5 separate regions of the Homo sapiens genome follow, and all the other regions are linked to region 1. The links are contacts of gene promoters, found by promoter capture Hi-C in blood cells and fetal thymus (Javierre and others, 2016). All regions are on one chromosome and are shown on one strand. The core of a region is centred on a gene start or on the middle of the fragment in contact, and the rest is flanking DNA. Distances in the headings are between cores, read along the strand shown.

Evidence for each region. Contacts are between HindIII fragments. The CHiCAGO score rates a contact against its expected background, and 5 or more counts as called.
Region 2: the fragment with the promoter of ACOX2 here is called in contact with the fragment with the promoter of PXK in region 1 in 17 of 17 cell types (naive B cells, naive CD4 T cells, total CD8 T cells and 14 more); the score reaches 22.9 in naive B cells.
Region 3: a contact is called between a fragment that was not itself captured here and the fragment with the promoter of PXK in region 1, in 1 of 17 cell types (naive CD8 T cells). The highest score is 5.9, in naive CD8 T cells.
Region 4: a fragment that was not itself captured here is called in contact with the fragment with the promoter of PXK in region 1 in 15 of 17 cell types (total CD8 T cells, naive CD4 T cells, total CD4 T cells and 12 more); the score reaches 18.1 in total CD8 T cells.
Region 5: a fragment that was not itself captured here is called in contact with the fragment with the promoter of PXK in region 1 in 4 of 17 cell types (total CD8 T cells, total CD4 T cells, naive CD8 T cells and 1 more); the score reaches 6.4 in total CD8 T cells.

Annotation. Positions count from the first base shown.
Region 1 is chr3:58,330,195-58,335,951 of GRCh38, forward strand. PXK (PX domain containing serine/threonine kinase like) reads left to right here and starts at 2,698. Exons shown (of 18, transcript NM_017771.5): 1 at 2,698-2,896. The coding sequence starts at 2,795. RefSeq lists silencers at 2,472-3,001, 3,248-3,542. The HindIII fragment of the contact is 5,516 bases long and covers 761-5,757 here.
Region 2 is chr3:58,533,801-58,539,557 of GRCh38, forward strand. It overlaps ACOX2 (acyl-CoA oxidase 2), which reads right to left and starts at 3,390. Exons shown (of 15, transcript NM_003500.4): 1 at 3,319-3,390; 2 at 1,147-1,397; 3 at 560-722; 4 at 194-345. The coding sequence starts at 1,306. It overlaps LOC107984079 (a long non-coding RNA gene), which reads left to right and starts at 1,572. Exons shown (of 3, transcript XR_001740724.2): 1 at 1,572-2,514. The HindIII fragment of the contact is 2,666 bases long and covers 1,692-4,357 here.
Region 3 is chr3:58,515,887-58,521,643 of GRCh38, forward strand. It overlaps ACOX2 (acyl-CoA oxidase 2), which reads right to left. Exons shown (of 15, transcript NM_003500.4): 13 at 1,320-1,537. Among named protein-coding and RNA genes, the nearest start is that of ACOX2, 18 kb to the right of the region's middle. RefSeq lists an enhancer at 4,866-5,383. The HindIII fragment of the contact is 4,163 bases long and covers 620-4,782 here.
Region 4 is chr3:58,495,047-58,500,803 of GRCh38, forward strand. It overlaps KCTD6 (potassium channel tetramerization domain containing 6), which reads left to right. Exons shown (of 3, transcript NM_001128214.2): 2 at 3,667-3,736. The coding sequence starts at 3,710. Among named protein-coding and RNA genes, the nearest start is that of KCTD6, 5.8 kb to the left of the region's middle. The HindIII fragment of the contact is 3,629 bases long and covers 1,217-4,845 here.
Region 5 is chr3:58,463,663-58,469,419 of GRCh38, forward strand. The region is part of intron 1 of LOC107986092 (a long non-coding RNA gene); the gene reads left to right. Among named protein-coding and RNA genes, the nearest start is that of KCTD6, 26 kb to the right of the region's middle. The HindIII fragment of the contact is 6,081 bases long and covers 419-5,757 here.

The DNA of each region.
Region 1 (5,757 bases), core at 1,448-3,947:
GATGCAATCTTGGCTCACTGCAGCCTCCACCTTCCGGGTTCAAGTGATCCTCCCACCTCAGCCTCCTGAGTGCCTGGGACTATAGGCATGCACCACTTACCCTGGCCTGATTTTTAACATTGCAAAAAATTCATGATTGTACCAAGATTTGTCCAAAACCCAACTGTTAGTCATTTATCCTTGCATGCTATTTTTTTTTTTTTACTGATCTCTGATTATTTTCTTAGGATACCCTCCTAGACGCAGAATTACTTGGTCATAGGATAAGAACATTTTCAAAGCCCTTAATACATATTTGTTTTAGCTCCTAGTACTAGGTCTATTACATAGTAGGTACTTAGCAAATAATTGTTGAATGAATGTACGAATGCCCTCCAGAAAGGTGGCGCCAATTTATACTCCCACCTGCAGTAAGAGAAAAGAGCCTTGTCTTGGTCAGTCCACATCACAATAGGAGTAATGATTATAGCTGGATTTTGGTTTCTGTGACTCTGGCAGAGAAATAATCTATTTGCCTTAAAACAAAGAAATGAAAGTAAAAAGTTGAATCCTCCCTAAATGACATATGGTTTTGCTTTAATAGACTGCTGCTTTTAAACACACTGGCACAAAAGTGGAATGGAGGGAGAGTTCTGATTATTTTAGGGCTGAATCATGAAGGTCCAGGATTCCTTCTTCACATCTCGCTCTATTAGATCTTGGCCCCTGGGACCAATCTCATGGCTACTTGACTCAACGGGGCTGCCCACCAATCCCAATAAGCTTGAGATCTGGAGAAGGGACCCTTTATGTATGATGTGGGCCTTTCCTGTGATGTCAAATTTTGGTGGTGGTGGTGGGATTACCAAGGAACTTTGTTCCCTTATCTGAAGTGTAGAAATTTAGTGGAGGCAAATTTAAGAGTTAGGAACCTTCCATTCTGTCAACTGTAGGGGAAGGAGGAAACTAATATTGACTTTGTTTTGTTTTTTTTTTGTTTTTCCGGAGACGGTCTTGCTCTGTTACCCAGGCTGGAGTGAAGTGGCATGATCATGGCTCACTGCGGCTTCAACCTCCTGTGCTCAAAAAACTCTCCCACCTCAGCCTCCTGAGTAGTTGGGACCACAGGTGTGAGCCATCATGCCCAGGTATTTTTAAAATTTTTTTGTAGAGACGGGGTCTCACCATATTGCCCAGGCTAAACTCCTGGACTCAAGCCATCCACTCTCCTCAGCCTCCCAAAGTGCTGGAATTACAAAGGTGAGCCATCATGCCTGACCACGGTTTGAGGTGTTTTTGTTTGTCTGTTTTTTTGTTTGTTTTTTGAGACAGAGTCTCACTCTGTCACCCAGGCTGGAGTGTAGTGGTATGATCTTGGCTCACTGCAACCTCCCCCTCCCGGGTTCAAGCAATTCTCCTGCCTCAGCCTCCAGAGTAGCTGGGTCTACAGGCACGTGCCACCATGCCCAGCTAATTTTTATATTTTTAGTAGAGGGGGTTTTGCCATGTTGGCCAGGCTGGTCTCAAATTCCTGACCTCAGGTGATCCACCCACCTTGGCTTCCCAAAGTGCTGGGATTACAAGCGTGAGCGATCATGCCTGACCACCGTTTGAGTTTTTACTATGTGCCAAGCCCCTTCCCAGTCTACTGCATTCCTTGTATTAACCTTTTCATACAAATAATATTATCTCCACTTTGCAAATTGGGGAGTTGGGACTCAGAGAGGTTGGGTAACTTATTGAAGATCACACAGCTGGTAAATGCCAGAGCCATGGAGATGATGGTCCTCCAATTCTAAATTTAACTCTTCACTATCCTGGAATGCTGCCCTAGGAGAGGGCAGTGTGGGTGAAATTTCTAGGTGTATATGGAGATGGGGGGGATGAGGTGGTGCCAGGATTATGGCTTTGGGTTCAGGCAGACTGTGGGCAGATTTAGGGCTGAGAAGTTGATCCCAAGGTTCTCTGGCTTGGCTCTTGGTTTGAAGTTCTTCTAGTCCATATGGTGGGATCAAAAACTCCCAAGTCTAAGGGATGTGGTTGAGCCCGCAGTGGGGGCCAAGAGTAGAGGCTAGGGGTCTCTGGACCATTTTATAGGGTCTCCAGTTCTTAGAGCTTGGGTCTGAGGGTTCTGGGGCCCAAGACCTCCAATTATGGGGTCCAGCTCTTAGGTGTTCAGGCCTGAGGAGCCACGTTCAAGAGTCCCTGTGAAGTTTCAATAGGAAGGGCTTGTTTCAGAAAGTCTCTGGGTTTGCAGGGCTCAGACTGGGGGTCCCATCCTAAAGGCCCTTTTTCTGAGTTTTAGGGTCCTTGGGCCTGGGGGATGAGAGAGATCCAGTTCTGAGGGTTTCAAGAGGTACGGTCCCCGAAAAGCCCAGTTCTGAGAGGCCTGGTTTGGAAATCTCGCCCTGAAGATTCCTGGATCCCAGGGCTCAGGACCAGGCGTCTCTGGATCTGAGGATCCTGGTAGTGATGGCTTAGGGTGGTGTTCCCTGGTCCGAAGCCCGGAGCTAAGGGCACCGGGTCTGCGGTGCGGCTGCGAGGAGCAGGGAAGCGCAGGCCCATGGCAGCCGCGAGGCGGAGGAGCGGGCCAGCGGGCGGCAGTGCTGGCGGCCCCCACACGTTCTGCGCTGGGTCGGCGCTAGGACTCCGGGGCGGCGGCCGTGGGAAGGGCGGCGCTAGGACCCCGCGGGCCCGGCGGCGCGTGGGGCGGCGCGTGTTGACAGCGGCGGCGGTGGAACCGGGCGGGCGGCGGGAGTCGGCGCCTCGGGTTCCTACCTCGCGTCCCTAGGCGGCGGCGGCCGGGCGTCCCGGGATGGCCTTCATGGAGAAGCCGCCAGCCGGCAAGGTGCTGCTGGACGACACGGTGCCGCTGACAGCAGCCATCGAGGCGAGCCAGAGCCTGCAGTCCCACACGGTGCGCGGCCCAGCGGGCGGGCGGGCGGCGTGGGGCGGCCCCGGGCCGCGAGGGGGCTGCGGGCTGCCTGGCGCGGGCCGGGCAGGGTCGTCGGACGGAGACCGGGCCACAGGGTGGGCGGCCCTGGCCGAGAAGGCTGTGGCGCGCCGCTGGGTCTGGGTCAGGGCCCCTGGGGCCCAGGCGAACGCTGAGGCCCGGAGGGGCCAAGGATGGGGACCGCAGCTCCCGGCGCCGCGGGGTGGAAGGAGCTCGGCGGCGACCAGGAAAGCGACTCCGAGTTGGGGGGCGGGGGCGGGGGCTGCGGGATTCCCGGGCTCACCTTGGACTAGGGGAGCAGGAACGAGACCGCTCAGGACCATCCACTTCTGCCCGCCGCCAGCCTTTTCCTTTTTGAGGCCGTGTAATTTCCTCCTTGCAGCTGAGGGTCTGGGTGATGGGGATGAGGGTGTGCCGGGCCAAATGAAGTGTGACTCCAGAGCCTACTTGTTGGGACAGCAGAGTGTAAGTGGCTGGGGTCTGCAGCCCCGTTTCCAGGTCAGCCGCTTGGCCCTGGTCCCGGGAAGTGGTGGGGGCGGCAGTCGGGGCGCTGTTAAGCAGGTGTATGAATGTGCTTCTCTAACTTGCTCTTTAGTGGGCAGTGGTAGCATTCATTTGAGTTTAAAATCCACTCGAGTAGCATAAAGGAGTAATAGGTCCTCATAGTAAACATTGGCAGGGTTCATTTCTGCTACATATACGGTCTTTTATGGGGCTTTAAAACCGTGGTTGTTTTCATTTGCTTGTACCTTTTTTTTTTTTTGAAAGGCCCACTATGCATTATAATTTCCAAGCAATAAATCTAGGAACCAGCAAGAAACCTGGAGCTATCAGCTAGTGGGACTTTTTTGGAAAAGTAATGAGTGAGGAGAGAGATTCCTTCAATTGTGATGTTTTGTCAGTCCACCGAATCAGATTCAGACTCAGAGGCTTGTTTGTTTACCATTGCAGTGTGTTTGGGGGGTCATCATCTGGAGGCTAAAGCTCACAATAGCCTTCTGTTTCTCTTTTCGTTCAAGCTCTTCTGATGACTTCAAAGAGACCTTTTATTCTGTTGTATTAAAGTGAGACTTTTTTGAACCTCAGTTTCCTCTTCTGACAGCCGTGCTTTGTAGGGCTTGAATTGTTCAAAGCATTCACTTCCAGTTAAGAAAATTATTATCTTTTTAAAAAGGGCTATTTATTTCACGCTGTGTGTCTTTAATCCTATTCTGTAGACATGTGAGAAGGCACATACAGGACAGAATTTGTTAAACTTGCTATCATTTGTGCCTAAAGGGAGTATGGCATAAGGGTTGAAATTTAGGATAGGGAGTCAAGAGTAATTCAGCTATTAAATTTGATTTTTGACTTGACTATTGGCAAGTAAGTCTTATAACCTTTCAGGGAATAGTGTCGAGTCCTTTAGGTTTATTTTGTATTGAAAATAAAGAGATAGATGTTTCTAAATACTCACAAATTACTTTCCCTAGGAAGCATTCATGATTTCTACAGCCCCAGCCCATGTGCCTACCCACACCTTAATCTTGATTAGTTTGTCCTGTAATTACTTCTTTACTTTTTGTCTCCACCAGGCTACAAGAGGAGGGGCACTTCTTCCTCACTTTTGAGTCTCATTCCCTGGTTTTTGATAGGATTTCAAATGTGTTTATCAAATGACTAAATAATCCAACTTCAACCTTACTATGCCTCTTTTTCTGTTTATGTAAAATGGTAATTGTAAACATTGAAAAAATAACTTAGAGATCAGTGCTTTAGCTAGGTGGCGAAAGATGTAATAGGATTCTGTTTTTATTGTAAGGGTGTGTGTGTGTGTGTGTGTGTGTGTGTGTCTGTGTGTGTGTGTGTGTGTGTGTGTGTAGAGACAGCGTCTCACCATGTTGTCCAGGCTGGTGTGTGTGTGTGTGTGTGTGTGTGTGTGTGTGTGTGTGTGGAGACAGCGTCTCACCATGTTGTCCAGGCTGGTCTGGAACGCCTGGGCTCAGGCCGTTCTCCTGCCTCAGCCCCACAAAGTGCTGGTATACAGATGTGAGCCACCACACCTGGCCCTGCAGATCTTTTCTTTAAAAAATAAAATAATTTAGGGTAGAAAATGGCAGTTCTTGTAGGGATGACTGACCACAAAAGACAGTGACTCACAGGAGACCCATAGAGGCAGATGTGGTAGAGTAAAAAACTGTAGCATTGTCTTGCGTAATTTTTTGACTGTTCTGTGTTCTTGTCATTTTAGCTGTAAAGTTTGACTGAGAAATGTTGCATCAGCCCTGAAGTTTATTGAGAAAATCTTACGCTGATGCAAACTTTTTGGACTGTTAGTGTCTTATGAGTAAGTCTTTTTTAAAACAGGAACTGTTGGAAATTATTTTGGAAAGAAGTAGTTGTTAAGAGGGGTATGTAGAAGAGAAAGGCACTGTTTTTTCTTGGGGAGATTGAAGTTGGCTTTCCAGCTTGGTAGCTGAAGGGAGATGGTGTTCCAGAAGTCAGAGCTCTACTCTCGCTTTGAAATGCTGAATCTCTAGGAAGTTACTCCTTGGCTGTAGACAGAAACATACGGAGTTAGAGACAGACTTGGGGTTGGAAGAGGCAAGACCTTAATACAGGTCTGAGCTGATACTTGCTAGTCATGTGATATAGGCTGGGCAAGTCACTTAAACCTTTTTGAAGTTTAGTTTTGTCATCTGTAAATGGGAGTAATAAATGCCTGCCCTGCCTGCCTCCCAAGGTTGTTAGGAAGATCAAATGAAATCATCTTGATGAAGTATTTGTAAAATGTATTCCTTCCTCCCTCCATCTCTTCACTCCCTGACAACATTTGTGCAAAGCGT
Region 2 (5,757 bases), core at 2,140-4,639, 200 kb after region 1:
AGCTCATACAATACGTGCAAATTAGAAGGTGGCACCCCTTCCTCAGGACCCTTGACTGCCAGCTGCTGGAATGTTTTCTTATTAAACATATGTCCCTCGGAGCATATGAACCTATGACTACCTAGATGTAAATGGGCCCTCTGGAGTTTTGCAGTGCACAACCTAAACACCACACGCAGCAGTCCTAGCTCACCATGTCCCAACTCTGTCTGTGCATACGTTGCGATGATCTGGATGTTTTTGCAGAGTGGGTCCCATTTGGCAATCTGCTCCTCTGAGCCCAGGCTCCTGAGGGCTCTCACGAAGACTCTGTGTATATTTAAGGCCACGTCTCCAGAAAGGGCTCTGTTGGGGAGAGATGCTGTAGTTGAGTAGCTTATTGGAGACAGGGGCCCAGGTACCCCCTGCCTGAGCAGAGTACAGGAGATAAAGGGCACCTAGCATCCTGGTTTCCCAACAAGTCTTCCCTTTGTTGGGGGAAATGGCTCATGGGGCTAGGGGGTTTCCAGGTGATCCCAGGTAGATCCCTCTCTAGTGGGGCTGCTCGAGGAGTGAGCACCTGTAAGCGTAGCCTAATTCACGACCATCTTCTAACCAACCCAGGCGCCGAGCTATCAACCGGATGTGGAATGCCCTCCGCATGGCAGCCTTATAACGCTCATTCTGGGTCATGAAATAATTGTCCTTACAGCTAAACTCCGGGTAACTGTGGATGATGCTCTCTGCAGAGGACAGAGAACAGAGGGCTTAGGGACCTGGGTGAGGTTTCTGGCACCTTGAAATCTTCTCACCCACTTGCTTCATGGATCTGGAAAGGAAGTCAGACATTATTGTTATTTTACAGATGACAAAACTGAGGACCAAGGTGGGAAAGTGAATTGCCCAAGGTTACAAAGCTATGCAGTGGCAGAATTTTAGGACCAGAATCCAGGTCTTCTGCTGCCTAGGACTCTTCTATCCCCTAGGTGGGCTCAGGCAATATTGACATGTGAAGATTGTCTTTACAGTTCGAAGGAATGAATCTCTAACAGTGGAATTTCAAGGGCAAAGTTTGTTATTTGGAAGCAGAACTGCTAATGAAGGACTCTTCTTACAAGAGAAGCATGGGGCATAAAACAGATGTCCCATTCCCCAGCTTCCCCTTACCAACTTTCCTGCGGAGTGCAGTGTTCTGGGCACCTCCATCAAGGATGTTGGTGAGCCGTTCCACGTCAAAGGACTGCATATACCTCTCGCTCTCTATGTCGGGGTGCATTTGCCTGCTCCAGGTATCCCCCAATGACACTCGGTGCACTGGGCTGCCCATCCTATCCTGGATCTGTCTGGTGACTATGGAGAGACACTTCCAACCCGGCTGCTCCGAGGGTCTGCTCTCAGCATTGGTCAGTGCAAAGAACCTGTGTGCAAGAGGAACTGCCTAGGGCTGGGTGTCAGCCAGGGCTGGTTGGTAGAAGAAAGACATCCCTAAGTACCTGAATGCCACTCCACCTCCCCACTCCCCCTGTGGACACTGGCTGTGGACCAGGCACTGTGTGCATGGTAGGCATGGTATGCAGCCATTGCTTGGTACATGTTTGTTCAATACTTGTTAGCCAAAATTGGACAGGGCCTGACCCCAAAGATTGGGCTCTATCCACTGCAGTTTGAGTTACATGAATTGCCTAGGGAAATCTTCACAAAAAAGTCAGTGAAGCTTACACCTGAAGAAAATAATCCTGGAGAGGTTGAGTGGCCCCTAGCCACACAGCTGGAGATGGCCAGGAGTTGGATGGGGTCTGACCACAAAGCACATGACTTGTCCATACTACAGCTCCACTGTGGAGGATTGCTGGGGGCACCTTGGTCTCATTAAACTGCTCATAAGTTCTAGGATCACTCAGCTCCATTTCTATGAGCCCTGCAGGTATATTGTGGAACTGAAGGGAGGAAGCCTTCTTCCTGCCTGTGAAGTGTTCCCCTGGAGCCCCTGAGTGTCTTTCATACCCAGGTTGGACCCTGTCTCCTTCATGGCAAGTGCTTGGCCTCTGAGAAGCCCCTATTCCTCCACAGTGAGGCAACCATGAGGTGCAGTCCATCCTATTTCACAAGTCTCTTGAGTCCATCTGCTCCTTGCTATCTCTTTGGCTAGCATCCAGGCCACTGTTATCTCTTACTTGGCCTCAGTGTTCCTCTTATTTGTTCTCCCAGCTGCCAGGTGAACTCTTGAACTGCAAATCACATTGTTTTCCTCTCCTGCTTGGAATCTGCTCCTTGGGGCCCACTGTTTGTGGAATGGAGTCCTTGCTGTGTCTACCCAACCCTACTCCACTCACCTCTCTCCTATGTCAACTTACTGCCCTCATCCCTGGCCTCCACTCATTCTCTTCCTACCCTTTGCCCCTGCTGTTCTCTCTGAACAAAGTTCAGCTCCCTCGTTCCCTGGGTGCTCTAGGGTTAGGGACAAGTTCTTATTTGCTTACATGTTCCTCCCACAAGGCCTGGGAGGCCAGCTCTGCATTTCCTAGCTTGCAGCAGGTATGTTGTAAATCTCTCCGGCAGGCTGCCATGCTTTTGATCCCCTTCCTTCCTGACCTCAACCTGACAGATGCACTGCTGTTATTACCATTTTATGGAGAGGATGTGGGCCTTGGAAAGGGAGGAGACTTTATAAGGGTCATGCAACCACATGTAGCAAATGATTCATATGAGGCTTTCAAACCAATACCCCCAGCAGGGCTGTGGGGGTGCTGGCAAGGGGCCCCATCCTCTGCCCCCCGGAGTCCTGCAAGTGCCCCTAGTGCGGCTCCTCTCGTCCTGCCTTACCTCTTTTCCTTGCTCTGCTGCCACTGCCTCCTTGCTGTTCTGAATGCTCCAGGCCTCCCTGCCACTGCCAGCATTTGCTAGGGCATCTCCATCTGCCCAGAACACCCTTTCTTCAAATGTCACTAGGGCTTTTTGCATTGAACCTCATTTAACCTTAAAGAGGCCACCCTCTTTAAAACCCCAAGCCCCCTCCCCCGGCATTCCCTGTCCTCCTCACTCTGCTCTCCTTTTTCTCTTTTCACTTATCCCCTTCTGACATTTGAGATCATTTACTCATTTCATATGTTTTTGTTTACTTCCATCTCCCTGCTACTAACACAGAAACTGCAAGAGGGCCGGGATCTTTGTCACTGTCATGCCGTGACCCTAACACTTAGTGCAGGGCCTGATTTGCAGGAGGTGCCCAGTGAAGAAAGCCTTGCTCAGGGTCTCTCGGAGCTGCGGACAGGGTCATCATGGGGGCAGCCCTCTCCTCTGGGGTCTCCCAGTCCCTCCCTGCCCAAAAACCTGGCTCACCTGGCTCCCCTCTGTCCTGTGTCCGCACTGTAGGCCGGGCTGGCCTCTCCCCGGCTGTAGGCCGCAGCCTCTGGCAGGCTTGTGGTCCTGCCCTTCTCTCCTCCCACATAGGGGCTGGAACACAGAAGCTGAGAGAAACTGCTTGGCCAGCTCTCAAGCCCTTGTCTGCTCTCAAGCCCTTGTCTGCTCTCAAGCCCTTGTCTGCTCTCAAGCCCTTGTCTGGGCTTATGGAGCTCCTCTCCTTCCTCCCTCTCTTCCTGCATGGGTGTGACCTTTGTGCCTGTCGCTGGGGCTGCCCTGGGAGGACTTCTGGGAGGTTGGAGCCCTTACATCTCAAAGCCAGGGATTCCTTTGACACTACTTGTACCAAAAAGCTGTGTACCCCAGCAGTGTTTCCAAAGTGATATCCTGGTCTTCCCTGATCTTTCACTGTGTGCCCTTCAGGCACTCAAGCTGTTAATATCACACGAGCTTAATAGGCTCCCCTGAGATGGTCCTCATGTGAAAGGATTGCTCTGTAAGGTGTACGTTTTTCCTCTCTCCCCATGTTTCTGCTCTAAAATATGGCTTGTCTTATGCTTAGCATCCCCTGACATTCCCTGGAAAAATATTTGTGAAGCATCCATCTGTAGTGTGTGGGATCCAGATGAGAGCTGGGTCTTAGTGAGAGGAATGAGAGGCTTAGAGGTTCCCTCCCTGCATAACCACCTTGGAAAGTCAGATGCGGCTCCCCATTTTGCAGGTAAGGAAACAGGCTCAGGGAGGGATGTCACTTTGTTTGGGTTTGCACAATAAGTAGATTACGTAACACATTTGTGTAAGACTGGGAAAGAAATCAAGGGGCCAGTAGGAGATCAAGGCTCCTGTTCTGGCAGGACTTCTGAGCTATGTTGACTCTGAGCAGGTGTACTCCTTTCTGGGCCTTGGCCTCCCCTGTAATGCAAGGTATTTGCTCAGTAAGGAGCCTCACAGCACCCCATCATATCCCCAAGGTAGTGTCTAGCTTGTGTCTGTAGGAAGAGGCAGGACCTGTGGCCCAAGCTTTGCAACTTATCACCTAGTAGGTCCTTCTGGAGCTGTGGGGCTCAGACTCCTGGCAGTCCTCATTGCTGTGGGCAGTGGTTTCAGGGAAGGTGGTCTTGGCCCCACTGTTTGGAGGTGAAAGTTCTTACTTACACCTGGACTCATCTCCGCCAAGGATTTATGCTATCACTGACCATGGGCAATGACTTAGTTCCTCTCTGCCATAGAGAAAGGCTTGGATTGCAGGAAGTGCCCAGTGAAGAAAGCCTTGCTCAGGGGCCCTTGGAGCAAGGCTTTTTAATAAACTCTCCATGTTTAAATTGTTTTCTCATCCGCTTTGAAGCTGACCCTGTTCTGTATGTTTTGGATGTGATCATTTTGATTTGTTGCACTGAAATCTTGAATTCTCTAGCTTAAAAAGGCTTTTTAAATTACAAAATATTTCAAACTTGTACAAAAGTGGAGAGAAAAATATAATGAACCTGCATGTACCTAACACCCAGCACTAACAATGATCACACTTGTCTCCTTGTTCTTTGTGTTTAACTTTTTATTTTGAAATAACTTTAGAATTTCAGAAAGCTGCAAAAAGTTCTTGTATATCCTTCACTCAGCTTCTTCTAAGGTACAATTATGAAACCAAGCCATTAACACTGCTGCAATATTGTCAGCTAATCTTCAGAACTTATTTGAGTGTGTCAGAGGTTCTCCAAGATCAACCTCAGGTCCAGTGATTTGCTAGGAAGACTCATAGAACTTAGAAACTGTTATACTGAGCCAGGCGTGATGGCTCACGCCTATAATTCCATTGCTTTGGGAGGTTGAGGCTTGAGGATCACTTGAGGCCAGGAGTTTGAGACCAGCCTGGACAACATAGCAAGACCCTGTCTCTACCAAAAAAGATGTAAAAATTAGCCCAGTGTGGTGGTGTGTGCCTGTAGTGCTAGCTCTTTGGGAGGATGCAGTGGAAGGATTGCTTGGGCCCAGAAGTTCGAAGCTGCAGTGAGCTATAATGGAACCACTATACTCTAGCCTGGGTGACAGAGTGAGACTTTGCCTCTAGAACAAACAAGAAGAAACTGTAATACTCATGGTTACAGTTTATTACAGCAAAAGATTACAGATTAAAATCAGTAGAAGGAAAAGGTACATAGCACGAAGTCTAGGAGAGAATAGACTGAGCTTCTAGGTGTCCTCTCCCAGTGGTGTTGTATGGACAGCATTTAATTCTCCCAACAACGATGTTTACAATATGCACGAAGTATTGACAACCAGGGAAGCACACTTTTGAGGCAGGAGAACAGCAGAAGGAATTGGAGGTTGGATAAAGGGTGGAATGAGCGAAAGCAGAAGCAAGGTGAAGGGGTGAGTGAGCAAGAAGCAAGAGAAGAAGCAGAAGTTAAGCAGCCAAAACAA
Region 3 (5,757 bases), core at 1,451-3,950, 190 kb after region 1:
CCTACCTCAGCCTCCCGAGTAGCTGAGACTACAGGTGTGTGCCTGATTCATTTTTTGTAGAGGTGGGGTTTTGCCATGTTGCCCAGGCTTTTTTTTTTCTTTATTGTTTTTATTTCTATTTTTTTCTAGGACTCTGATCAGGTTGGGCTTTGGTTTTGATATGTTTTTAAAGCAATCGTTTAGATTATAGAATAATAGTGTGAAAGCACTGCATTAGTATTTCATTCACCATACATGGCACTGCATTAATGCTGCATTAAAAAACTTTGTGTTATTATTTTATAAATCAATATATGAATTACAGAGTTAAAAAAAATTTTTCATCTTGAAGCTGAGGGAAGATTAAGGTAAGTTTACTAAACTTGGTAAGAATTTGCTTAAGCACATTCAACAAAGACTAGGATGTGTTCAAAGTATATAATACCTCAACCTTAACCTTAACATACAGGTTAAGAGCTCATGCCCAGGGGCCAGACCTGAGATTGTACCCAGCCCCTCCTCTGGCTGATTGTGTGATACTGGGCAACTCCCATCAGCCTGAATTTCCTTTCCAATAAAATGAGGAGATTAATAGTACCCATTTCAAAGGGCTGTAAGGATTAAATGAGATGTATGTAAAAGCTTTTGGCACAGGGCCTGTCACATAAGTGCTCTTTAAAGGTTGGCTATGCCTGGGCACGTTGGTTCACACCTGTAATCCCAGCACTTTGGGAGGCCAAGGCAGGTGGATCACTTGAGGTCAGGAGTTGGAGACCAGCCTGGTCAACATGGCGAAACCCCATCTCTACTAAAAATACAAAAATTAGCTGGGCATGGGGGTGGGCACCTGTAATCCCAGCTACTTGGGAGGCTGAAGCAGGAGAATCACTTGAACCCAGAGGCAGAGGTTGCAATGAGACAAGATTGTACTACTGCACTTTAGCCTGGGTGACAGAGCCAGTCCCTGTCTAAAAAAAAAGAAAAGAAAAAAAAAGTTAGCTATGGTTGAGACTATTATTAGCACATTAGCACATATCATTCATATGTAGCATGCTTCATTTTATTGATTTTCCTTAGATACTATTCCTATTTCCTTGACAATGTAAAGAGTTCAACTGAGGTAGCTCATTTATTCTTCAGTATTTTTCCCATTTTTTCCCATTTTTTTCTTTCATTAATTCATAATGCTTTATGCTGGTGTAATGATAATAGGGTGTAGACCTCTCCAGGGCTGTTGCTGCTCTGCCCATTAGCAAGGTTTTGGAGTTGGAAGTGACCTGTGAACAAGGGGTAGGGTTATTCTCTGAAGACTAACATGGTTTGAAGTCTCTGCCACTCACCGGATCAGGCGGAGCAGGTCCAGGTAGGCTGTTCTTGCCATGTCCACTTGGGCACCAGACAGGAAGGCGTCATGGAGAAAGTCACCCGAGTTAGTCAAGATTCCATGTATGGCATGGAGGTCACAGAGGCGCTTGAGCACCTGCTGAATCGCTGGTTCATTTTCTAGTTTCTCCAGAGCTTCTGTAAAACCCTTCACAGTGACATAGTAGCAGTGCACCTACAAAGACACAAAGATATGTTCTCCTGATTTCTGGTTTTCTACTCCAGAAGTCACCCTGGAAGCATGGCAAGATGGCTGGAATAAACTTGAGGCATGATGTGCTTCCCAGCAGGCTGATGAGCAGCTGCCTTTTCTCCTAGCTCTGGGTCTGATCAAGGCGTTTTGATGTTGTGTATATGTGTGTGTTGGGGGGGGGAGCGGGGACGGGGGGGACTGGTGGGCTTTGAAACATGGCCCTTGTTTTCTTTTGCTTGGAGCGGTTTCAAGTAGGTTGGAAAGTAGAAGGAAAGAATACAGGCATATTGGAGGCTGGCCTGGGGAAGGTGGAGGACAGCACCACTGTTCTTAAGAAATTAGCTATTTTAAGGCTGGGCGCGGTGGCTCACGCCTGTAATCCCAGCACTTTGGGAGGCCAAGGTGGGTGGATCACCTGAGGTCAGGAGTTTGAGACCAGTATGACCAACATGGTGAAACCCTGTCTCTACTAAAAATGCAAAAATTAGCCAGGCATGGTGGTGCATGCCTGTAATCCCAGCTACTTGGGAGGCTGAGGCAGGAGAATCATTTGAACCCAGGAGGCGGAGGTTGCAGTGAGCCAAAATCATGCCATTGCACTCCAGCCTGGGCAATAAGAGCAAAACTCCATCTCAAAAAAAAAAAAAAAAAAAAAAAAAGAAAAGAAAAGAAAATAGCTATTTGTTGTCTGCTGTGTTCAAGTCAGTGGTGTGTGTGTGTGCGTGCACATGTGTGCACCATGGGGTGAGAAAGTTTCAAGATATATATGAAATTTATTCCAGCTAGAGTATAAACTCCTTAAGGTAAGCAGTGCTGTTATTTAGCCCATATGTTATGGTCTGGCTGTGGCAGTTGTAAAAATAATACTTTAATACCAGCTGGCAACTGTCCACTGCCATCAACCCTGTGAGAGCCCCTTCTGCCAGATGGACTCCTTCCCGAAGACCCCCTCCTTCTCTCCACAGCCCAGCAACTAAAGGATTAATGTTTGACTCAGCAGGAGGCCTTCAGGACCTTGCTTCCCCTAGGGCTAAAGTCCATTTTGATTGGTTGGTGCCTTGTCCTACTGGTTGTAACATATTTTGAACAGTCCGCATCTCGTCAAGACAAGCACACACAATTATTTTGTCAGGTAGGATATATGAGTTCTATAAGGGAGAGCAAGGAAGAGAGAAAGTATAAAGCAGTGCTTCTTAATTGTTTTTTCTGAGATAGAATCTCACTCTGTCACCCAGGCTGAAGAGCAGTGTTGCAATCTTGCCTTGCTGCAACCTCTGTCCCACTGGGCTCAAGTGATTCTCCCACCTCAGCCTCCTGAGTAGTTGGGACCACAGGCACACACCACCATGCCCGGCTTTTTTTTTTTTTTGTATTTTTAGTAGAGACGAGGGTCTTGCTATGTTGCCTACACTGGTCTCGAACTCCTGAGCTCAAGTGATCCTCCTTCCTTGGCTTCCCAAAGTGCTGGGATTACAGGCGTGAGCCTCTGGACCCCGCCCTGCCTCTCAGTTTTTTATGTGCATATAGATCACCTGGGGATCTTGTCAAAATGCAGATTCCAGGGCAGGGCCTGAGACTGTGCATTTCTAACAAGGTCCCCTGTGATGCCCATGCTGCTGTAGTGATTTTCAGTAGCAAGACTTAGAGTGTCTTGGGGGTTCGGCTGGGCGCGGTGGCTCACACCTATATCCCAGCACTTTGGGAAGTTGAGGTGGGCGGACCACTTGAGGTCAGGAGTTCGAGACCAGCCTGGCCAACATGGCAAAACCCTGTCTCTACAAAAAATACAAAAATTAGCCAGGTGTGGTGGTGCACACCTGTAATTCTGGCTACTCGGAAGGCTGAGGCACAAGAATTGCTTGAACCTGGGAGGTGGAGGTTGCAGTGAGCTGAGACCGTGCCACTGCACTCCAGCCTGGGTGGTGGAGTGAGACTCTATCATAGAAAAAAAAAGAGTGCCTTGGGGGTTCAAAGGAGTTCACCCAGGCGGACATGAGTTGGGGGAAAGGTCATTCCAGGCAGGGGGAGCTTTATGTGCAAAAGGCTGTACTTTCAGGAAGCTGCAGGCAATTTAATGAGGCTGAAGTGTGGTGGTATAATGAGGTGATGATGGGGAACCATGGAGGTTAGGGTGGACTCATACCTGGGGCCCAGGTCAGTGAAGGGCTGTGAATAACATGGTCAGAATTTGCTCTGTGGGACTGGGAGTCTTCAGCTGGGCAGTGACCCGATCCGCTTTCTCACTTGGAAAGAACTTGTGTTTCCTAGGGGGCCCTCACACAGGTGCTGACAACTCCACTTTGCCATTCAGACATGGTGTGCTCACAGCCATGCTGGGCTTGCAGCATTTGGCTGTGGAAGGTGAGCAGATGTGCTGTGTTGCCTCTGCTGGCTCCAGTAGCCTTTGTTGCTCAGACTGGGTCCAGCTTGGCAGAACTGCGGACCCGCACTCCTTTTCCTGTCCTAATCTGAGAGCCACATCCTCAAATGCTCAAGGCTCTGAGTTGAGGAGTGGAGTGATGGAGAGCTGCCCAGGGGCCTGGGCCTTAAAAAGCAGGATGAGGATCAGAGACAGAGGTGACCTCTACACTTTGGGGAAGGGCTGAGCTGAACCTTGGCCCCACGCTCTGAGCACAGTGAACATTATTTACATTGTGTGTGTTGGTTTAAATCTTGCCTCCTGTCTAATTTGGGGGTGGGGGTGCTAGCTGCCTCTCTAAGTTTTACTTATTTAATCTTTATTAGAATCCTACAAAGTAGGTACTGTTATTAGCTCTATCTTGCAGACGAAGAGACTGAGGCTCTGAAAGATTAAGTTTTTTGCCCAAGGTCATGGCTAGGAAGTGGTAGCAGTGAGATCCACACCAGGGCTGTATTCCTAACCCTGTGTGGCCAAAGCCACAGGAGACTGAGGCTGGATTATAATGAGGCCAGCATTTGTTCCCATGGTCCTGGAGACTGACATCTCTTCTGGTCAGAGTCTGAATTATAGGACCACGGCCTGACAGAGCCTAAAGGGCTCTTCCATGCCCCTTTGTCTACAGACAGGGAAGTTAAAGCCCAGAGAGGGAAGGGGCTGCTTGAGGTCACACAGAGCTGGGACCAGAATTTAGCCCGTGGCTCCCCCTTGTCTACTCTTCTGGCAGTATCATCCCCTCTTCCCTCAAGTTGCAGTTATCTCTACCTGCACATTTATGGTTTCTAGATGGGGCCCAGTTGGGTGCTGAAGCTTTCTGTAGACTAAATAACCCCACAAAGCACAGAGAGTACAGAAAGCCCTATCCATTATGACCTTGGAGACTCAGCTGGGGCACCACCTCCCCAGGAAGCTGTCAGGGACGTGTTCTTCCCCCGCAGGCTGGCTGGCTGTCACCCTCCATCCCCCCAGAATTTGTTGCTCACCTCAGTCACTCATCACACCCTCAGTGGTGTGGGAAGGGAAAGCATCTGGACTCAGCTATTTCCTACCTCTGGGACCTAAGTCCTGAGTTCTCTTTCCTCACCCTTGAAGTGGAAATAATGTCAGTCTCCCTCCCAGGGCTGTGTGGATTAAATGAAGTAACCCTGGCAAGCAGCATCTGGTCCATTTGAAGGCAGGCCATAGGTTTGGAAAATGAATGAGTGGATAATGGGTGGCTGTGGTTTCTGTTTTGGTGATCCAGTGAAAGCAGGAAGCCTTGGCTCACCCTCTGTGTTGACAGGACAGTTAGCACAGCAGGGGGTGCCCCTGCTGTAGGCTGAGCAGAACTGAGGGCTGCAGAGGTAATCCCATCACGTGTGGTGTGGTGGAGGTGGTGGGTCACGTGGTGGTGCTCAACGTCCAGCCTGCCTGACCAGCCCTGTCCCACGAGGGCCTCTGCAGCCCTTCAGGGCTCTCCTGTTCCAAGGCTGCCATTTTCTGGGTCTGAGGCCTGAGGATTGGCGTGATCACTTTAGTTTTCCAGTTATTGGCGGTGCCAGAGTCCCAGCTGCCTAAGCTAGAACTCAGGAGTTGTTCTTACCTCTTTCCCACCCCAGCACTCTGAGGCCTGTCCCTGCCTTCTTCCCCCTTAGCATCTCTGATCTACCCACTTGTCTCCAGGCCTTCTGCCATGCTCATGGTCAGGACCACCCTCAGTCCCGGTTCAGACTTGCTCCTTTCTAACTTGCTCCCTTTCATTCCATCCTGGGCAACCTGCATGATTCTTCTAGAATGAAACTGA
Region 4 (5,757 bases), core at 1,781-4,280, 170 kb after region 1:
TTATAGCTGTTTGTGCTCGGTTGCATTTGCTGTCTTTCAAAACCATCTTTAGTTTTAGTAAGGAAAGTCACTATAAAGGAAAAATTTTTTATTGTTACCATTCCTGGTAGATTTTCTGAAATATTAGATATTTCTTTGCTTTCATCAAGTAAAATAGGCCTATTTGATACCCATTTCAAGATCTTCCTTCTGCTGCCTGTCTTGTGGTCATTTAACTTCTCATTAAGCCCTCCACTGGAGACTGTGCCAGAAGGGAGAGAAGATGAAAAGCAAATGAATCATTTTCTAATTGTTAGTAGCTCTGGAAAATGATTCAGTAGAAGAGATTGAAACTATTCTGGAAATTCTTTGGGATTGTATTTCATTCATCTGCATCGTTTCAGAGATGTTCCTAATGGTCGTCAATTCAGAATTCAGAAGCCGATCATTATCCAGCTATTGGATAACAGGGAATTTTTCATGCTTTTTTTTTGTTTGTTTGTTTCTTGCTGTATTTAAGCATCTCCACAGAAGATATTTAGAAGCAGGTAGAGATAAAATTTAAACTAATCAATACTGTTTTTTCCCTTTGAACTCTTTAATGCACAATTTGATTTCTTTAGACAGTTTACTCATTGTTATTGGAAGTGACTAATAGTAACTTTGCTTCAATTTATTTTGATGTATCTTATACACAAGTATAGGAAGGCTTTTGGGTGGTTTTTAAGAAACATGGGCTGTAGATTCCCATAATTGCTTTCCTGAATTATTAAGCGTGAGCTTTCATTACATCTTTGTACCGGAACTTTTGCTTTTGCTGTGGAACAGATTCAGGGACATCGTCTAATTTTTTTTTTTTTTTTTTTAGATAACTGCTCAAGAAGTTACCTTGTTTTGATTTAGCAGTAAAAAAGAAAAAAAGGGTTAATAGTGGACAGACTTTTCGTTAACGGCTGCAACATTGATGTCTGCTTTTTTCCTTGTCTTTGATCTTCTGTTTCTCATTTAATCATTTGGATATTCACGGATTGGAGTTCTTTATGTCACTACAGACAGGACAGCAACCGTTATTCACACTAGTTGAATGGGTTCCTGCCTTTTTTTGGTGGGGGGGCCTCAGGAGAATTTTTACAAACCCATTATGACTGTTTAGTTAGGCTGAGTTACTGTAAAATTTGTAAATAAAACCCTACTGGATGGATAGGGTTAATAGATGGCTATAGAGAGTTTAAAGTTAAGCTTTTTCAATTTCTTGTCTCTTGGATTCTGTTCTTTCAATTTCTACCCTAGGAGGGGATTTATGGAAAAATCTAGACTAAGAGTCAGAACATGCAAGTTCTTATCTAGTTACTTCCCAGCTGTGGCGCCCTCAGCTAGTCACTTAATCTGCCTTGTTTCTCTGTTTTGCATCTTTAAGATGAGGATAGTAATCCCTGCTCGGCCTACTGGTATCAGGAATGTTGTAGGGGGAAAAAAAGTCTTTCATGCCCCTGTCTATTAAATTGTTTCTTCCTTCTAGAATCCCTTCTCAGGTTGTCCGAATTTTCTTTCAAGGATTCAACTGAATGGGCTCTTCCCAGAAGTCCTCTATTTCCCATTTGAAATCTTGCTTTTCCCCTCTCACGGGCCTCTGCTGGTCCATCTGTTATACAGCACTTTGAATTCTGTTCTGTACTTCAGTCATTGCATGTTGCCTTCCATTATAGATGGAAAGCTCCATGAGGGCAAAGATTGTCTTTTTCCTCTTTCTGTGTGTCCGCATTGCACATAGGCACCCCCTCCACTCCATAGGTGACCCACAATAATTGTTGGCTGAATGAATGATTATTGAGGCTGTCAGAATGAATACTTTGGGTGATGGGAAAATGCCAAAGATGAGCATCTTACCAGAACTTTTGGATGAGTGGCCTTTTAAATTGCTCAGTTACTAATCTGTTGTTATCAGTAACTGAATCAGATCCTGGCAAGACAAATTGGCAAAGCCCATTTCTTGGTCCTGTTTACTTCGGATACTATTTGTGAAGCAAGTCAGAGGAATGAAAGACTGTCATAACAGTCTTGAATTTGACATTTGTTCCATTTCTCACCCCATAGCATGTGGAGGCCTGTCTATATCCAACTGCTGAGTGTAAAGAATAAAAACTGACTGCCCCATAGTCTGGTCCACATTTTAGTTGTGTGCTTTGAAGGATTTGCAAGGTAGAGAAATAGATGCTTCAGGCTCTGATTTCAGCCCATGCTGTGCTATGCAAATGTTCTCTACATGCCTGAGTGACCTTTTGAGAAAGAGCCTTTGTGATCTTCTGTAGCTAGGGCTTGTTCTGGGAATTCTGTGCCAGATTCCTCTAAAAGTGGGAAAAGTGAATCTGTTAAAGGACCACGTAAAAAAGCCAGTGCTTTTCCTGGATGAATACCAATAAGTCCATGTTTCTTACCATGTCTTGCCAGAGCTTTAGAAATTTGCTCTGCAGTTTGCTTTACAGGTTGATTTGGGATTGAAGTGTGTGAGAGGGAACTGACTAAGGCAGTTCAGTAGCTGGGAAACTGTTTGTTTAAATGCTTTTGAATTGTAGATAAAAATAAATTCACATTGGCATCATTAGTATCTGAGCATTTCTCAGTGTCTTAAGGCTGGCTCTCCATGAGTGCTGGCTGATTGACTCTCATCTATATCGGTAAGGTTCTTTTTGCCCCAAATTGTGCTCTTTAACACTTCGGCATTTAAATCACTTTCTATTTGTTTTAATTGTACAAAGAGAAATACATCATTATTTAAAAGCATCATCTTTTTTTTTTATATTGTAAGATAAATACCATTCTGATGTATTTCTCTTGGAAAGGGATGCTGGTATCCTGGGAGGTTTATGATTTTTGATGTTTTTACTCAGGTGATTGGCTTGTATAGCTGAAATGCTGATGAAAAGGAGTTTTCCCTTCTCCCTTTTTCTTTTCTTTTCTTTTTTTTTTTTTTTTTGAGATGGAGTCTCGCACTGTTGCAGGGGCTGGTGTGCAGTGGCACAGTCTCGGCTCACTGCAACCTCCGCCTCTCGGGTTCAAGTGATGCTCCTGCCTCAGCCTCCTGAATAGCTAGGATTACAGGTGCCCACCACCACGCCCAGCTAATTTTTTGTATTTTTAGTAGAGATGGGGTTTCACTATGTTGGGCAGTCTGGTCTTGAACTCCTGACCTGGTGATCCTCCTGCCTCAGCCTCCCAAAGTGCTGGGATTATAGGCATGAGCCACTGCGCCCAGCCTGTCCCTTTTTCTTAAATGACCTTTTTGGTGAGGACCATTATAGGTTTGTACCAGGATAAGGTTGTAGAGTTAATCATAATATTCTCTTATATAAATTCTAAAAATTGATGTTCTAAGAAGAGAGGTAGAATTTGAATGACTGGGTTACTTCCTAGACTCTTCCTCCTTCTCTTAAGTACAGTATAGTTCTTTCTCTGAAAATCTTCAGTCTCTTAGTTCCAGATGGGTTCTCTATGGTAAGAATACAGGACATGTAGAAGGCCCTAGGGGAATGCTTTCTTCCCCAGATCTTTGCCCTGTAGTAGGTTTCAGCTGAGCAAGGACGAGTAGTTTTTCTGGTGTTTGGCCTCCTCTGTTGGGTGGAAAAAGACTTTCTTCTCTATTTTCCTAGTTATATATGCTATCATATGTCTGTTTTTCTCCTCTTGAAGTTTCCCTGAAACCTGGGCTCTTGAAGACGCATCACTGGAGCAGATGGATAATGGAGACTGGGGCTATATGGTGAGTGCTTCTTGGAGATGCATTTTGAAGGCTGGGGAATTATTTTTGTGTGTCTTTTTATCCTTATGTATTTTTAGGTATATCTTATAAGAAAAGAAAATTGTGAATTTGTGTAACCTCTCTTCCCCCTTTTACTTAGTTTAGATGTATTTTGGAGGCGTTTTTGTCTTGTGTGGTGTTTTTTAAATTTTTATTTAATTTTTTTTATGTGGAGTCTCGCCTTCTTGCCCAGGCTGGAGTGCAGTGGCGCGATCTTGGCTCACTGCAACCTCCACCTCCTAGGTTCAAGAGATTCTCCTGCCTCAGCCTCCTGAGTAGCTGGGATTATCAGCGTGCACCACCACATCTGGCTAATTTTTGTATTTTTAGTAGACACGGGGTTTCACCATGTTGGCCAGGCTGATCTCGAACTCCTGACCTCAAACGATCCTCTGCCTTTGTTTGGTGTTTTAATGGAATCAAACTCAAAATGGATTTTCCAAATACTTTTTATAATCACTGGAGAGGTAACGTGATTTTTTATTTTTTCAAGTGTGTTGCTCTGAAGACTCTTTCTTCATGAATAGTGACTACAAAGGGATCTAGTGAGTTTGGAGGATATTTTGTTGTGGTTTGGGAGATTAATGGTTGAGAAAGTGCCTCTTCTCCCCACTTGCATTTTTTGTGTGTGCATATGTCTCCCTATTTTTCTATTCCTTTGGTGTAAGGTATATTTTACTTGCCTATACCTGAAGTCTCTGTCTGCCTTTCTTTTTTCTTTCTTCCTTTTTTTTTTTTTTTTTCGAGACAGGGTCTTGCTCTTTTCCCTAGGCTGGAGTGCAATGGCGTGATCTCGGCTCATGACTTTCCAAGCTCAGGTGATTGTCCCACCTCAGCCTCCTGAGTAGCTGAGACGATAGGTGGGCACCAACATGTGTGGCTAATATTTTGTATTTTTTGTAGAGATGGAGTTTTGTCATGTTGCCCAGGCTGGTCAGCAACTCCTGGGCTCAAGTGATCCACCCTCCTTGGCCTCCCAAAGTGCTGGGATTACAGGTGTGAGCCACCACACCTGGCCTATTTTTTTCGTAAATAGTATTTCTAAAACTGAAGGTATGTTTTTTAAGAGAAGCTTGCTTCTCAGAATTAAAGGCCAGATTGCAGCATTAATGTTACAAAAGTGAATACACTATCAGATTATGAAATTTTATGGCTGCTGTAAGCTTTTGGGTATGTGATGCTTTTCTGGCTTGGTTGTATTGACTAAACTGTATATTTTAACTTAGTATTTGAAAGTATCACTTCCATGAAAAAGTTACCAAGATTAGGTCTGCACAGTTTTTAATTTAATTTAAATAATTTTTTTTTTTTGGAGACAAAATCTCTCTGTGTCGCCCAGGCTGAAGTGAAGTGGCATGATCTTGGCTCACTGCAGCCTGTGCCTCCTGGGTTCAAGTGATTCTCATACCTCAGCCTCCCAAGTAGCTAGGACTACTCAGGCCACCACACCCAGTGAATTTTTTTTTTTTTTTTTTTGTATTTTTAATAGAGATGGGGTCTTGCCATGTTGCCCAGGCTGGTCTTGAACTCCTGAGCTCAGGCAATCTGCCTGCCCCGGCCTCCCAAAGTGCTAGGATTACAGGTATGAGCCACTGTACCTGGCCCAAATTTTTATTTTAAAAACAAATTTCATAGTTTGTTCCTTTTGTTTGAGGGGGAGAAACCAAAGAAATATTGAAAGTAAATGTCTATATTATCAGATCATTTTAATTCTATCTAATGTTAAATTAAATTCAGAAAAATGCAAGCCTTAAAAAAAAATCAGAAAAAAATAAGTGTATTTTAGCGTGGCTTTTCCCTTCCCACATATATTCTGGCCTGAAAACTCTATAGATAATGGGCCTGAAATGATTTGGCTCTGGAAGTCAATGCCCTGTATTCTTAGCATAAGTCTTTAAAGAGAAATTGGATTTCTCCTTTTTTTTTCTATTGAAAGCAAATGTTAGATCACTTCATCTGGGTGGGTTTATTGCTGGTAGTAA
Region 5 (5,757 bases), core at 2,209-4,708, 130 kb after region 1:
GGCATGCACGCATGCGTACACACGCAGGCACACACATGGGTCCATTTGGTTACTTCTGGTACCTTATTGATAGAATTTCATTTTTGAAAGCTTTAGAGGCGTAGCTTTTTAGAAAAGGGAATTCCTAAAGGTGGATCCCCACATTCGCTTTCCCAGGGGAAGGTGACTATTTTGTTGCCCAGGCTCACCCCTAGAGGTCGCCTCTTCGCTTGACTGGCAGCTGCTAGGGCAGAAGGTGCACAAACCACGGTCGGGGCTGCTCCCATGTGACTCATGAGATGCGCAGCCTTCCAAAAGTATTCACACTTATGTTTTCTGGCCTTAGCCACGTTTCTTGTGGGTTGCAATACTCAGACACAGAACCCACATTTTGGCTTTGCAGAGGCAAAAAGCTGACAGAGGGACAGGTTGTCCAGAAAGCTTCGCCCACACACTGTACTGTAAACTTCCAGAGGATGAATAAAACACCTATTTCCAGGCACAAAAGAGACACTTCTCAGTGTCCCAAACATTTCGATGCTGATTACTTCACTAGATTAAAAAATTTTTTTTGACTAAAGGAAAGCCGTTTTATTAAATACATTAGAACTGACTTATAGCATTGGTGTTAATGTCTCTCTGAACGATTATACCAGTCTTATGTTTTGTTCTTATATTTAGGGAGGCAAGATTTCATCACATTATCTCTGGGTGTGTGTGAAAAAGAACTATATTATAATAGTGTGTATATTCCTTTTTAAAAGTAATTGAATCAATGCCAATAGATAAATGACTAGTTTAAATTAACCACACAGAAATGTTATTTGATTTTTTAAATTTATTTTAAGATAGGGTCTCACTCTCTCCCCCCCAGGCTGGAATGCATTGGCACAATTTTGGCTCACTGCAACCTCCACCTCCTGGGCTCAAGTGATCCTCCCACCTCAGCCTCCCAAGTAGCTGGGACCACAGGCACGTGCCACAACTCCTGGCTAATTTTTTCTTTTCTTTTTTTTTTTTTTTTTTTGTAGATACAGGGGTCTTGCCATGTTGCCCAGGCTGGTCTCCTGGGCTCAAGCGATCCACCTGCCTTGGCCTCTCAAAATGCTGGGATTACAGGCATGAGCCACTGTGCCCAGCCAGAAATGTTATTTTATTAATGTTGAACATGTACAGTAACTTGAAGCAGACTATTATTCTGTTTTCATGCTGCCATGAAGACATACCTGAGACTGGGTAATTTATAAGGAAAAGAGATTTAATTAATTCACAATTCCACGTGGTTAGAGAGGCCTCAGGAAACTTACAATCACGGTGGCAGGTGAAAGAAGTGAATGCTGAGCAAAGGGGGAAGCCCCTTATAAAACCATCAGATCTCGTGAGAACTCACTCACTATCATGAGAACAGCAAGAGGGTAACTGCCTCTGATTGAATTATCTCCACCTGGTCCCTCCCATGACATGTGGGGATTATGGGAACTGCAATTCAAAATGAGATTTGTGTGGGCACACAGCCAAACCATAGCAAGACTATTTTTGCCATTTAATTATTTAAAATTTTTTTGTTTTATATGTATTTTTTGAGACAGGGTCTCAATCTGTCACCCAGGCTGGAATGCAGTGGTATGATGTTGGCTCACTGCAACCTCCACCTCCCAGGCTCAAACAATCCTCCTGCCTCAGCCTCCTAAGTAGCTGGGACTACTGGGGCATGCCACCATGCCTGGCTAACATTTGTATTTTTTGTACAGACGAGGTCTCCCTATGTTGCCCAGGCTGGTCTGAAACTCCTGTGCTCAAGTGATATGCCTGCCTTGGCCTCCCAGAGTGCTTGAATTATAGGCATGAGCTACCGTGCCTCGCCCTCCCTCTCTCTTTCTCTCTCTTTCTTTCTTTCTCTCATTCTTTTGCCATTTAGAATGTAGATATAAATATCTATTTTAGGAATTTTGAGGCTCTTTGAAAAAATGTATATAGTGGCTTAAAACACAGATAAATATGACAACATAGCATAGCTGTTAAGAAAATCAGTTTTGATTTCAGGAATCTGCAAACACAGTCACAAAAACAATGAGTGATAAGATGATTCATGTCAACTATGATAATATTTATAACAGCAAAAAATGGAAATAACCTAAATATTCATGGGTTAGGGTCTGAATTTAGAAATACCTGGCACAGTCATGAAACAGAAAATTATAAAGATGTCAAAAGAATAAGGGAACTTTCTGTATATGAAAGGCATATCCATCTTTGCACTTCACCGGAATCTCTGCAAATGTTTATAAAGGGAAATCGGAGAAACCAGGGGATGCTTGAACCACAATTTAAAAAAAAAACTTTCTTTTTTTTTGAGACAGAGTCTTGCTCTGTCACCAGGCTGGAGTGCAGTGGTGTGATCTTGGCTCACTGAAACCCCACAACCCGGTTCAAGCGATTCTCTTGCCTCAGCCTCAAGAGTAGCAAGGATTACAGGTGCGCACCACCACGCCCAGCTAATTTTTGTATTTTTAGTAGGGACAGGGTTTCACTATGTTGGTCAGGATGGTCTCGATCTCTTGACCTCGTGATCCACCCGCCTTGGCCTCCCAAAGTGCTGGGATTACAGGTGTAAGCCACTGAGCCCAGCTAAAAAAAACCTTTCTATTTTGAAATAATTATAGATTCACAGGAAGTTACCAAGAGAGTACAAAGAGGTCCTGTGTGCCCTTCACCTAGTTTCTCCAATGGTTGCAGCTCAGGTAACTATAGCACAATATCAAAACAAGGCAATTGATATTGGTACAGTGTGTGGATAGTCCTATGCTATTTTGTGGCACGTATGGAATTGGGCAACCACCACAATAAAGATGCAGAACTAGCCAGGTGCAGTGGCTCACACACTTTGGGAGGCCGGGGTGGGCGGATCATGTGAGGCCCGGAACTCAAGACCAGCCTGGCCAACATGCTGAAACCCCGTCTCTACTAAAACACAAAAAATTAGCCGGGCATGGTGGCTCGCGCCTGTAATCCCAGCTACTTGGGAGGCTGAGGCAGGAGAATCGCTTGAACTGGGGAGGCAGAGGTTGCAGTGAGCAGAGATCGCGCCATTGCGCTCCAGCCTGGGCAACAGAGCAAGATTTTGTCTCAAAAAAAAAAAAAGAAAAAAAGAAAAAGAAAATTAGCAGGGTGTGGTGGCCCACACCAGTAATCCCAGCTATTTGGGTGGCTGAGGCACGATAATTGCTTGAACCTGGGAGGCAGAGGTGGGAGTGAATTGAGATTGCACCACTGCACCCCAGCCTGGGAGACAGAGTGAGATTCTGTCTCAAAAATAAATAAATAAAATAAAATAAAATAAAATAAAATAATTTGTATGTGTCAGATGAAGCAAAAAAGAGAGGTCAAGGCTAACCTTTTGTTGGAAAGCTACAACATGTTGAACAGGCCACCTGTTGTACTCTTGGCCTCTGTCCCTAGCTTGTTCTCTGTCCCAAGGCTCGCTCATTCTGGAATGTTCTACTCTCACATTCCCAATAATAAAGGCATTTAGGGTTCATAGAGAGCCATTTCAGAACCATCCCACGGATGGATCGCTGTACCTACACACCCACCCTCAGTCCCCCAACTCTGAGCCTCACATTAAAATAATGTTTTAATCCATCTATCATCCTCCCCTGCTTCCCTCTAGGGCTTTACTTGTTAGAGCACAAGGGTGAGGTCACACTCACCTGCGTTAGGAATGCAGGCTCCAGGGTCATGCTGCCCTTTCTCTTGTTCTTGGGCAAGTAACAACTCCTAAACCTGAATTTCCTCACTTACACACTTGAGGTGATAGATAACAACAGTACCAGCCAACAAGGTCACTCAGTTATTCTGAAAATATAGAGCATCTACTATGAGCCAGCTGAGAATATGCTGGGGAGGAAAGACAAGGCCCTGCTCTCAGGAAGCACCACAAACAGAGAAAACAGGAGTACACAGCTCAGCCCAGTCTTCAGCACGTGGCCAGCCTTTAAAAAATGTTAGTTGTTTTAATTTTTATTATATATATATTTTTTGTTGAGATTGAGTCTCACTCTGTCACCCAGGCTGGGGTGCAATGGCAGGATCTCAGCTCACTGCAACCTCCGCCTCCTGGGTTCAAGTGATCATCCTGCTTCAGCCTCCTGAGTAGGTAGGACTATAGGCGCGTGCCGCCATGACCAGCTAATTTTTGTATTTTTAGTAGAGACGGGGTTTCACCATGTTGGCCAGGCTGGTCTCGAACTCCTGACCTCAAGTGATCCGCCTGCTTTGTCCTCCCAAAATGCTGGGATTATAGGCGTGAACCACTGCGTCTGGCCTGCTTTTATTATAAATATAGTCACACACAATACTTATTTATGGACTGAAATGGAATATGAACCCGGTATCACACACTTGGCCTAGTATATTCTTATTCATTATCAGACATTAATTATGGTTAGCTGCTAAGAGCTGTGCTGGTGTCTCATGCCACCATGAAAGTCAGCTCAGTTGCTCACCAAGAGCACTCATTTAATGTTTAAAATCTAGGATAATTTTCTGAATTTAATATCTTGAACATCAGACTCAGTAAGGGTCTCTTGCTGTAAACATACAACTTTGAAGAAAGAGTCTTTATGTAAACTTACAAAAAAGTATCTTACAGTTTGTCTGAAGGTTGATATATTATCAAAAGACTCCCACACAATAAATAGCAATTTCATTGCTTAGAATATACATTTCATAAATAATCAGAAATATGAGATTTAGCAGGGGAAAAGCCCCTTAGAGGAAGTTAATTTTTTAAATCGTTAAAAATGCCTAAAATGTGACTAAAAAAATAAAAAAGAATAGGGCAGCTGAATAAATGCAAAAACTCTCAAAAGAGGTCTGAATTCAAGGCAAACTGTTCATTATGCAAATTAGTCAACAGGTGAACTGGTCACCTGGCAAATTTATCATTAGAATACCTGGCTCTGGGGCCGGGCGTGGTGGCTCACCCCTGTAACCCTAGCACTTCGGGAGGCCGAGGCAGGTGGATCATCTGAGGTCAGAAGTTTGAGACCAGCCTGACAAACATGGTGAAACCCTATCTCTACTAAAAATACAAAATTAGCCAGGCATGGTGGTGCATGCCTATAATCCCAGCTACTCAGGAGGCTGAGACAGGAGACTTGCTTGAACCCAGGAAACGGAGGTTGCAATGAGCTGAGATTGCATCACTGCACTCCAGCCTGGGCAACAACAGCCAAACTCCGTCTCAAAAGAAAAAAAAAAACAAAGAATACATGGCTCTGGTCACAGTAGTCTGTTCCTGGGGCAGGACCAACGTGGCGGTCATGGGCAGTTTGGGCATGTTGGGAAAAAAAAATTTTTCCTCAACTTTCCTAAGTTCTTAGTTGGAAAAGACCCCTGTAACAAAAGAGATTAACAAGAGAAAAGCAAAGCAAACAGGAGTTTATTAATGTATGTATTTTATATATGTTAGAGGAACCCCTGCTTACCAGGCCTCTGGTTTAATAACACATGACCAGAATGACTCCCTCTTGAAGTGAGTAACTGGGCACTCATAAGACACTTAAAAGGTTAATATTTAGGACCTGAAAATAGCCACACTCTAAGCTGACCACCAATTATAATTACAGAATATTTATGGCCCTACAGAGCAGCTCCCACTAAGCCTGCAGAATGTCCAGATGTCCTAAGCACGGAGCGAATGTACTTAAAGATAATGATAATGAGCAGGCTTCGATTGAAGGATTAATGGTCATTGACAATACTAATAGCCACTAC